Regions from separate parts of the Homo sapiens genome. Here region 2 is linked to region 1. Evidence: promoter capture Hi-C in human tissues and cell types (Jung and others, 2019). All regions are on one chromosome and are shown on one strand. The core of a region is centred on a gene start or on the middle of the fragment in contact, and the rest is flanking DNA. Distances in the headings are between cores, read along the strand shown. Region 1 holds the start of RNF135 (ring finger protein 135). Region 2 has its middle 3.4 kb from the start of TRT-CGT4-1.

Region 1 (5,777 bases), core at 569-3,068:
TTGCAGTGAGCCAAGATCATGCCACTACACTCCAGCCTGGCAACAGAGCAAGACTCCATCTCAAAACAAAACAAACAAAAAAAATGTGGCACATCCACCCAATGGAATATCATTCAGCCCCATAAAAGGAATAAAGTTCTGACACATGCTACAACATGAATGAACTTTGAAAACACTATGCTAAGTGAAAGAAACCAGGCACAAAGGGACAAACATTGAACGATTCCAGTTATATGAAATATCTAGAACAGGCAAACTCAGATACAGAAAGTAGCTTAGATGTGAGCAGGGGCTAGAGGGAGGAGAAATGAGGAGTTACTGCTTAATGAGTACAAAGTTTCTGTTTATGATGATGAAACAGTTTTGGAAACAGAAGTGATAGTTGCACAACAGGAAATGTAACTAATTTGTCACTGAATTGTACACTTAAAAATGGTTAAAATAGGCGGGGCGCGGTGGCTCACACCTGTAATCCCAGCACTTTAGGAAGCCGAGGCGGGCAGATCACGAGGTCAGAAGATCGAGACCATCCTGGCTAACAACGGTGAAACCCCGTCCCTATTTTTTAAAAAAAGAAAAAAACATACAAAAAATTAGCCAGGCGTGGTGGCGGGCGCCTGTAGTCCCAGTTACTCGGGAGGCTGAGGCAGGAGAATGGCGTGAACCCGGGAGGCGGAGCTTGCAGTGAGACAAGATGGCGCCACTGCACTCCAGCCTGGGCCACAAAGCAAAACTCCGTCTCAAAAAAATAAAAGGTTAAAATGAGGCCAGGCGCTGTGGCTCATGACTGTAATCCCAGCACTTTGGGAGGCCGAGGCGGACGGATCATCTGTGGTCAAGAGTTTGAGACTAGCCTGGCTAACATGTCGAAACCCCGTCTCTACTAAAAATACCAAAATTAGCCGGGCGTGATGGCGCACGCCTGTAATCCCAGCTACTCTCGAGCCTGAAGCAAGAGAATCACTCGACCCTGGGGGGCGGAGGTTGCAGTGAGCCGAGATCACGCACGCCATTGCACTCCATCCAGCCTGGGCGACAGAGCGAGACTCCGTCTCAAAGAAATAAAGAAAAAGGTTAAAATGGCCAGTTTTAATGTTATATAGATCTTACCACAATTTTACAAGTTTCAGAGAAAGAGACCGAAGATCGATTGGGAAGAAGTTGAAATATGCCAAGCTGTGTAACAGCTAAGTTGACAAGCTTTCGGAAGATGGGGAATTTGTTTTTTTCTACTTCTTCATACTTTTATGAACTTTCCAAAGTGCCTCCGAAGAGCGGAACTCGACTTTTAGACTGAGAAAAGGAACGTAAAAGTAGAACGGCTGAGGAAAGGGGTTCGAGCCACATGGGAAAGGGTCAGGCGGCGGGCAGCCCGGGGGAGCCAGGGGAGCTGCGGGCCCGGCCTCCCTACCCGCTGCAGTTCCGGGCGGCGCCGGGGCCTCGCGGCCGCGCTGGAGAGGGAACTGGAGCCCGGGCAGGGGCAGTGGGCAGGGTCGGAGCCCGCCTGTATCTCGCGTGCGGCGCGGCGGTACTTGTCGGCCAGGTCCTGCAGTAGCGTGTTCTTCCGCAGGTGCGGCTGCTGCGCGGCGCCCTGGCGGCAAGTGGGGCAGGCCCAGCGGCGGGCGTCGCGGGCGCCCCACAGGGCCTCCAGGCAGTGGCGGCAGAAGCTGTGGCCGCAGGGCAGCGTGGCGGGCCAGTCCAGCAGCCCCTGGCAGATGATGCAGCCGAGGTCGTCCTCGGCCAGCCACACGGGAACGGCGGAGCCCAGGCCCAGGCCCGCCATGGCCAACAGGCGGCCGGGGCGCGGACGTCGGGGTTGAGCCGGGCGAGTCTCCTCAGGCTCCTCCCTCGCCCTTCCTCTTCCCCTTGCCCTCCTCCTTTTCTCGGCCGCCTTTTCTCCTCCTTCCTTGGCGCCACCCCGTCTCCTTCCTCCGATCCTGCTGAAAACAGACTTAGAGCCTCCAGTGCCCAGCTGGAAAGACAGAGCTGACCTTCAGTGGCGGCCTCTTGCCCTGGGAAACCAACATGCCGCGAGCTGCTAGAAACCCGCGGAGGTCTCCAAGATTCCCTTTAGCTGGATGTCCCTCCATTAAGATGCAGCACCGTTGGATGTCTTCGTCCGTTGGCTTAAAAAAAAATAAACAACAAAAAAGATGCAACACCGACAACTCTTGGGAGGAGAGGACTCCATTCAGCAGCTTATTTATGAGAATGAGCCCACGAAGTGTCATCCAGCTCCTCTAACAAGTAGCAGGGGATTAAAGATCACCGATGCACAGCCACAGGGAGCGTCCTCAAAAATGCTGATGTTCGGCCCCGCTCGCAGGGAGTCTGATTTCATTGTCTTGGGTGGAGCACGGGTATTTTGTAAAACCTCCCCCAGGTGATTCTGACGCGCATTCAAGGTTGAGTGAGCGAACCCTTGGCTTTTTAACTCGCAGGTATAATGCAGAGTTGTGCGCTGTGTCCTTACCGCCTTCTGCGGGATGTAAGCGCGTTTCCCAACAGACACTCGGACAAAATTCTAGAAAGTGTTTTCCTGAGAAGGCTCACTCACTCACTCACTTCGCATCCCAGTCCTAAACGCATTGCAACCAGAAAATGTTAGAGCTAAAAGAGCACCACGTCCTCCCAGATGACCCAAAGAGGTTAAAAAAAAAAAAAAGAGAAAAAAGAAAAACTTGCAGGCTCTCATGGTAACAATGAAGCGTCAGAGACTAAAACCCACAACTCCCCAATCTGTTGAAATGAACTAACAACGTCTCATGCTTTACTTTATCCTTTCTGGCCTGGGCTCAAAGTAGGTATCAGATAATACAAGTTTGTAGCCGACCTTTGGATCACTTGAAGTCAGGAGTTCAAGACCAGCCTGGCCAACATGGTGAACCCTCATCTCTACTGAAAATACAAAAAGAAAAGAAAAGAAAAGCCAGGCGCCCTGGCGCATGCCTGTAATCCCAGCTACTTGGGAGGCTGAGGCAGGAGAATCTCTTGAACCCGGGAGGCGGAGGTTTCAGTGAGCCAAGACTGCGCCACTGCACTCCAGCCTGGGCGACATAGGGAGACTCCGTCTCAAAAAAAAAAAAAAAAAAAAAAAGAAAAAAAAGAAAGAAAAGAAAGAAAAAAAAGCGTTTGTGGTTATTTCTAATACTGGAAGTGTCATGGAGTAGGCAGCGCTGCTCATCAACGTTTCCAGTGCTTTCCCTTTCTGGGCACATGGTAGGACTGGCACTTCCCTGACCCACTTGAAACACACAGAGGTAATATGTTACTTCCCACCAGCTTTAAAGGCGACTGAGCCGGCCATTGTATCCCTTTCTGCCAGCTGCCCCAATTATGGAGATGAAACCATCATCCGGTGACCTGGGTCACTGAGTGGCTAAGATGAGCAGACTCCCTGCCAACGCACCCTAGGATACGTAGTAAGAGGGAGAAGAAAACTAGGATGTATTCAGCTTACTGAGATTTAGTGGGTGTGTGCTGCTACAGCATAACCTAGCCTATCCTGACTGATGTATTACCTGGATCTTGTTCTAGAATCTCCGCATCGGAGTAAAATCGTAGTTTCTAAGAGCCTCTTTTTTTCTGTAAAACGGGCATGATACTAAACACTTAAACATGCTCAGATCTTCCAACTTAAAAAATGAAATCACTGGCGGGGCGTGGTGGCTTATGCCTGTAATCTCAGCACTTTGGGAGGCTGAGGCAGGTGGATTGCCTGAACTCAGGAGTTCGAGACCTGCCTGAGCAACATGGTGAAACCTTGCCTCTACAAAAAAAATACAAAAACTACCTAGACATGGTAGCGCAGGCCTGTGATCCCAGCTACTCAGGAGACTGAGGTGGGAGGATTGCTTGAGCCAGGGAGGTGGAGGCTGTAATGAGCCATGAGATCTCAGGAGGTCAAGACTGTGGTTAGCTGTGATCACACCACTTCACTCCAGCCTGGGGAAGGAGCTAGACCTAGTCTCAAAAAAATTAAAAATTAAAAAATAAAATAAAATCACCTTTGACCTGAGCCTCCCTGGAACCAGCTCTCCTCTTCTCCATTTCACAGCCAAGTTTCTGGAAAGAGTGAGTTAACCAGTAGTTTTCAAACTTTTTTCTTGGACACGCCCTAAAAGTTTTATGCAAAATCATGCAGTGGTTATAAGAAAGGGGGAAGTGGGGGCCGGGCGCAGTGGCTCACGCCTGTAATCCCAGCACTTTGGGAGGCTGAGGCGGGCGGATCATGAGGTCAGGAGATTGAGACCATTCTGGCTAACACGGTGAAACCCCGTCTCTACTAAAAAATACAAAAAAAATTAGCCGGGCGTGACGGCGGGAGCCTGTAGTCCCAGCTACTCAGGAGGCTGAGGGAGGAGAATGACCTGAACCCAGGAGGCGGAGCTTGCAGTGAGCTGAGTTCGCACCACTGCACTCCAGCCTGGGCGACAGAGCAAGACTCTGTCTCAAAAGAAAAAAAAAAAAGAAAGAAAGAAAGGGGGAAGGGGGAGAGTGGTCAGCTCTGGTAGTAAAAATATATTAGCAAATTCTTCATTTATATCAGATTTTTTTTTTTTTTGAGATGGAGTCTCACTTTGTTGCCCAGGCTGGAGTGGAGTGGAGTGGCACAATCTCGTCTCACTGCAACCTCCACCTCCCGGGTTCAAACCATTCTCCTGCCTCAGCCTCCGGAGTAGCTGAGATTACAGGCGCTCGCCACCATGCCCGGCTAATTTTGTATTTTTAGTAGAGATGGGGTTTCCCCATGTTGACAGGGTTTCTCCATGTTGGCCAGGCTTGTCTCGAACTCCTGACCTCAGGTGATCCGCCCACCTCATCCTCCCAAGTGCTAGGATTACAGAGGTGAGCCACCGCGCTCAGCCTACATCAGACATTTTGTCATTCTTGGCCGAGTGCGGTGGCTCATGCCTGTAATCCCAGGACTTTGGGAGGCCGAGGCAGGCGGATCATGAGGTCAGGAGTTCGAAAAATACAAAAAAAAATTAGCTGGGCGTAGTTGCAGGCACCTGTAATCCCAGCTACTCAGGAGGCTGAGGCAAGAGAATCATTTGAACCCGGGAGGTGAAGGTTGCCATGAGCCAAGATGGCACCATTGCACTCCAGCCTCGGCAACAGGGCAAGACTCCGTCTCAAAAAAAAAAAAAAAGAAATTTTGTCATTCTTTTATCTTTCTGAACTTGTATTTCCATTCCATTTCCTCCACAGAATTACATTCCAAAGCAATATATTTCATGCATGAAAGTCTTTTATCACTTTGTAATACTTCTCTACAACAAAAGTATGTATGTGTATTAAATTTTTAATTCTTCTTAACTTCCTGTGACAAAAAGGCTCTTGGTAAATTTTTTCCCCTGGATTTAATTATCAATATAATTACTATTAGCAGTCAAACAAAAGAAAAGTATGCTGCAATTTATAACTTTTATATAAATAAAATAACTTTTAAAGACAGTAAACATTTTATTGGAATGATAGCTATTAATAAGACAGATGGGCTCATTTCTTTCAAAAATGCATTTATGCCCAGGCACGGTGGCTCACATCTGTAATCCCAGCACTTTGAGAGGCCAAGGTGAGCGGAACACTTGAGGTCAGGAGTTTGAAACCAGCCTGGCCAACCTGGTGAAACCCTGCCTCTACCAAAAAATACAAAAATTAGCTGGGCATGGTGGCCTGAGGTCCCAGCTACTCCAGAGGCCGAGGCAGGAGAATTGCTTGAACTTAGGAGACGGAGGTTGTAGTGAGCTGAAATGGCACCACTGCACTCCAGT
Region 2 (5,178 bases), core at 2,520-5,019, 570 kb before region 1:
AATCATGTGGTCTCTCATACCGCGGAACAGTAGGTCACGATGAAAAGGAACCATGCGGATTCAAAGGACTGATTGTCAGCTTAGGCAGAGCCCAGAAACACACGTGAAAATTTACTGGAAAAACAGAGAGGGAGCCTGGGACTGGGGATGGGGGACAAAGGGGACTTTAACTTAATTGGCATTGTTTTGTTTCTAGTCTATGGAAGAGGCAGAGGTGGGAACACGAGTGCCTATTAGGATACTGTATACTTTTTTGGTAAATCTTTTATTTTCTTTAAATTAAATAAAGGGGGGAATTAGGTCCCCCTGTTCTTGTTTGGCCTGTGGCCACAGCATCTGTTCCAGGAGAGAGGTGAGTCTGCATGGGTGGGGGAAGAGAAGCCCTTATCTCAGGGCAGGGCTCATGCTCGCTGGGGACAGCCACCCTGCCACCACCACTGCCAAATTAAGCCTTATTTGTGTGCAGATTTTTTTTTCTGGAGACAGAGTCTTGCTCTGCCCAGGCTGGAGTGCAATGGCACGATCTCGGCTCACTCCAACCTCCACCTCCCGGATCCAAGCAATTCTCCTGCCTCAGCCTCCCAAGTAGCTGGGATTACAGGCACCTGCCACCACTCCCGGCTAATTTTTTGTATTTTTAGTAGAGATAGGGTTTCATCATGTTGACCAGGCTGATCTCAAACTCCTTACCTCAGGTGATCCACCCGCCTCAGCCTCCTAAAGTGCTGGGATTACAGGCATGAGCCACCGTGTCTGGCCTCCTCTCTATGCTTTTAAAAACTCTCTGGACTCGGCCAGGCGCGGTGGCTCACGCCTGTAATTCCAGCACTTTGGGAGGCCGAAGCAGGCGGATCTCTGGACTCAACTAATGATGCTGGAAAAACCGCATATCCACATGCAAAAGAATGAAGTTGGACCCTAACCTAGCACCATATACAAAAATTACCTCAAAATGGATTCAGGACATAAACATAAGACCTGTAACTATAAAAATCCTGAAAGAAAACAGGGGGAAAGGTCTACAACATTAGATGTGGCAATGATTTTTTTAGATATGACCCCAAAAGCAAGAATAGACAAATAGGACCAAGTCAGACTTTATAAAAACTGCACAGCAAAGGAAACAACAGAATGAAAGGCAATCTGTGGAATGGGAGAAAATATTGCAAATCAGATATCTAATAAGGAATTGCTATCCAAAATAAAATTTAGACTCCTACCACTCGACAACAACAAACAACTCACTTAAAAATGGGCAAAAGGCTGGGTATGGTTGCTCATGCCTGTAATCCCAGGCTTCCCTTGGGAGGCCAAGGTGGGAGGATCACTTGAGGCCAATAGTTAGAAACTAGTCTGGGCGATATTGTGAGACCTCATCTCTACAAAAAGTAAACTAAAACAAGGCAGGCATGATAGCACCTATAGTCCTAGTTACTTGGTAGGCTGAGGCAGGAGGATCACTTGAGCTCAGGAGTTCAAGGTTGCAGTGAGCTATGATTGTGCTACTGTACCCTAGCCTGGACAACACAGCACAAGAAAAAATAAAGTGGACCTTTTCATCAGTTATAACAAGTGCACAACTCTTGTTCAGGGGAAGCTGTGCAGTTGGGAGGGCAGAGAGTATGTGGGAGCTCTCTGTACTTTGTGCTCAGTTTTGCGTGAATCTAAAACTGCTCTGAAAAATTAAGTCTGTGAAAAGGAAGAAATGAACTACCAAGTCATGAAAAAAACACAGAAGAATCTTCAATGTATATTACTAAGTGAAAATGCATACTACTGCTATGGTTTGAATGTGTCCCCTAAAGTTCATGTGTTAGAAACTTGATCCCCAATGTGGTGGTCTTGGAGATGGGACCTAGTGGGAAGTGTTTGGGTCATGGGGCCACTACCCTCATAAATGCATTAATGCCATTCTCAAAGGAGTGGGTTCATTATAGAGCAAGTAGTTTTCTTATAAAAGAAGTTTGCCTTCCCACCCTCTCTTTGCCCGGCCTCTGGGTTGATGAAGCAAGAAGGTCCTCACCAAATGCCAGCTCCTCGATCTTGGGCTTCCCAGCCTTCAGTCCCACGAGCCAATAAATTTCTGTGCATTATAAATTACCTAGTCTATGGTATTCTGTCTTAGCAGCACAAAACGGACTGAGACAAGCTAAACTGAAAAGGCTACATACTGTATTATATGACATTCTAAAAAAGGCAAAACTGTGGAAACAGTAAAAATATCAATGGTTGCCAGGGGTTGAGGGGTGGGAAGGATGAGTAGATAGGGCACAGAGAGTTTTTAGGGCAGCAAAACTATTCTGCATGATATAATGGTGGATACATATCATTATATATTTGTCAAAACCCATAGAGGGGTTCTGGGCTGGGAAAAATAAAGAAAAAAAAATCCCATAGAACGTTCAACACCAAGAGTGAACCCTGGTGTAAACTATGTACTTTGGATGATGATGTGTCAATGCAGGGTCATCAGTTGTAACAGATGTACCACTCTAGTGGAGGATGTTGATGGCAGGGGAGACTAGGGAGATACGGCGGCCATGGGTATATAGGGAACTCTGCTTTCTGCTTAGTTTTGCTGTGAACCTAAAACTGCTCTTTAGAAGTCTGTTTTACAAGGCCGGTTGCAGTGGCTCATGCCTGTAATCCTGGCACTTTGGGAGGCCAAGGCGGGTGGGTCACCCAAGTTCAGGAGTTCGAGACCAGCCTAGGCAACATGGTGAAACTCCATCTCTACTACAATACAAAAAATTAGCTGGGTGTGGTGGCATGCACCTGTAATCCCAGCTACTCAGGAGGCTGAGACAGGAGAATTGCTTGAACCTGGGAGGCAGAGGTTGCAGTGAGCCGAGATCATGCCATTGCACCCTGGCCTGGACAACAGAGTGAGACTCCATCTCAAAAAAAAAAGTCTCTTTTACAAAAACGGGGCTGGTCTCTGTGACTGACACGCATAAGGTCAGGAGTTCAAGACCAGCCTGACCAACATGGTGAAACCCTGTCTCTACTAAAACTACAAAAATTAGCCAGGTGTGGTGGTGTGCACCTGTAGTCCCAGCCACTTGGGAGGCTGAGGCAGGAGAATTGCTTCAACCCAGGAGGCAGAGGTTGCAATGAGCCGAGATTGTGCCACTGCACTCCAGCCTGGGCAACAGAGCAAGACTCCATTTAAAAAATAAATAAATAAATAACAAGAAAAATAATTTTTGAATTCTTTCCTCTCTGACCCCCTGCTATGAATCATTATCAACCCTGGGCCACATTGTAGTTGCCCTTTGGTGGGGTCACTGTGGGTTCACCCAGGTCCACTTCTCAGCTGGGTAGGCCTAGGAGCTGGTTCTGGAACACAGAGCTCCAAGTGGGCAGGAATCAAGCCTTACTCACCTTCATACAGCGTGGTCATAAGAGCACCTAGTCATTTATTCCTTCAGCAAATCATTGAGCATCTACTGTGTGCCAAATACTGTTCTCAATGCTAGGGCTATAGCGGTGAACTAAGCAGCACAGATCTCTGCCCTTATGGGGCTTCCATTCTTAAATAAGCAAAACATACAGTCTATCAGTTGGTGAGAAGTACTAGGGAGAAAAATACAGCAGGGAAGGAGGCTAGGATGTTCTTCAGGAGGGGGAGAGTTGCAGCTTTTTTTTTGAAATGGAGTCTTGCTCTGTCGCCAGGCTGGAGCAGAGTGCCGCTATCTCAATTCACTACAACCTCCACCTCCTGGGTTCAAGCGATTCTCCTGCCTCAGCCTCCCAAGTAGCTGGGATTACAGGCGCGCACCACCACACCCAGGTAATTTTTGTATTTTTTTTTTTTTTAGTAGAGACGGGGTTTCACCATGTTGGCCAGGATGGTCTCGATCTCCTGACCTCATGATCTGCCCACCTTGGCCTCCCAAAGTGCTAGGATTACAGGCGTGAGCCACCGCGCCTGGCCAGGTTGCAGTTTTTTTGTTGTTGTTTTTTTTTCTTTTTTTCTTTTTTTGAGACAGAGTCTCGCTCTATCGCCCAGGCTGGAGTGCAGTGGCGCTATCTCAGCTCACTGCAAGCTCCACCTCCCGGGTTCACGCCGTTCTCTTGCCTCAGCCTCCTGAGTAGCTGGGACTACAGGCCCCCGCCACCGCGCCCAGCTAATTTTTTGTAGTTTTAGTAGAGACGGGGTTTCACCGTGTTAGCCAGGATGGTCTCGATCTCCTGACCTCATGATCCGCCCGCCTCGGCCTCCCAAAGTGCTGGGATTATAGGCATGAGCCACCGTGCCCGGCCCGGGTTGCAGTTTTAAATAGGTGGTTGCCTGGTGCGGTGCTCACATCTGTAATCCCAGCACTTTGGGAGGCCCAGGCGGGTGTATCACCTGAGGTCAGGGGTTCAAGACCAGCCTGGCCAACATGGTGAAACCCCATCTCTAGTAAAAATACAAAAAATTAGCTGGGCGTGGTTGTGGGTTCCTGTAATTCCAGCTGCTCTGGAGGCTGAGGCAGGAGAATCGCTTGAACCTGGGAGGTGAAGGTTGCAGTGAGCTGAGATCACACCATTGCACTGCAGCCTGGGCAACAGAGCCAGACTCCGTCTCATAAATAAGTGGGATAGCTTAAATGCAGTCACAAATTCTTTGCAGCTTTTCCCACCTAGAGGTGGAGTCTCTTCTCCCACTTTTTGGTACAGGCTGGCCATGGGGCTTGCTTTGACTAAAACAATGTGGCAAAAGTGATGTTATGTAAGTTCTGAAGCTTAAGGCCCCAAGAGAGGCAGCTTCTGCCTCCACTGTCTTAGGAAATTGCCCTGAGAATGCTGTGGAAGAAAGGCAGTCTAGCTACTGAAGGTTGAGAGGCCCCGAGGGTCATTCCAGCTAACAGCCAGCACCGTCTGCCAGACATGTCAGGTAGCCATCTGGGACCTTCCAGCTCAGCTGATGCCTCAGCTGGATGCAGCTGCAAGATCGAGCCCAGGCACACCCAGCAGAGGAACTGCCAGCCTACCACAGAATCAGGAAGGTAATAAATCATTGTATGCCTTAGGATTTGAGGGTGGTTTGTTACATAGAAGCAATAGTTCATTGATACAGGAGGCCATATACAGCTTACACACCTTTCCATTCTAGGTTTGTGGGCTGCTGGTTATTTGTATGGAGTAGGCAAAAGTTAGTGATGCAGGGTAACTTTGGCAGAGGCCATGTAC

What was found. The method cuts DNA at HindIII sites, captures the fragments that hold promoters and counts their contacts. A contact is called where the count stands out against the background at its distance.
Region 2: a contact is called between a fragment that was not itself captured here and the fragment with the promoter of RNF135 in region 1, in 1 of the 25 tissues and cell types used here (mesendoderm cells).

The regions. Positions count from the first base shown.
Region 1 is chr17:30,967,080-30,972,856 of GRCh38, reverse strand. RNF135 (ring finger protein 135) reads right to left here and starts at 1,818. Exons shown (of 5, transcript NM_032322.4): 1 at 1,412-1,818. The coding sequence starts at 1,783. RefSeq lists enhancers at 1,003-1,252, 1,281-1,842, 1,943-2,192, 1,843-2,404, 2,473-2,532 and 1 more and a silencer at 1,323-1,862. The HindIII fragment of the contact is 16,210 bases long and covers 1-5,777 here.
Region 2 is chr17:31,544,126-31,549,303 of GRCh38, reverse strand. No RefSeq gene overlaps it. Among named protein-coding and RNA genes, the nearest start is that of TRT-CGT4-1, 3.4 kb to the left of the region's middle. The HindIII fragment of the contact is 7,091 bases long and covers 224-5,178 here.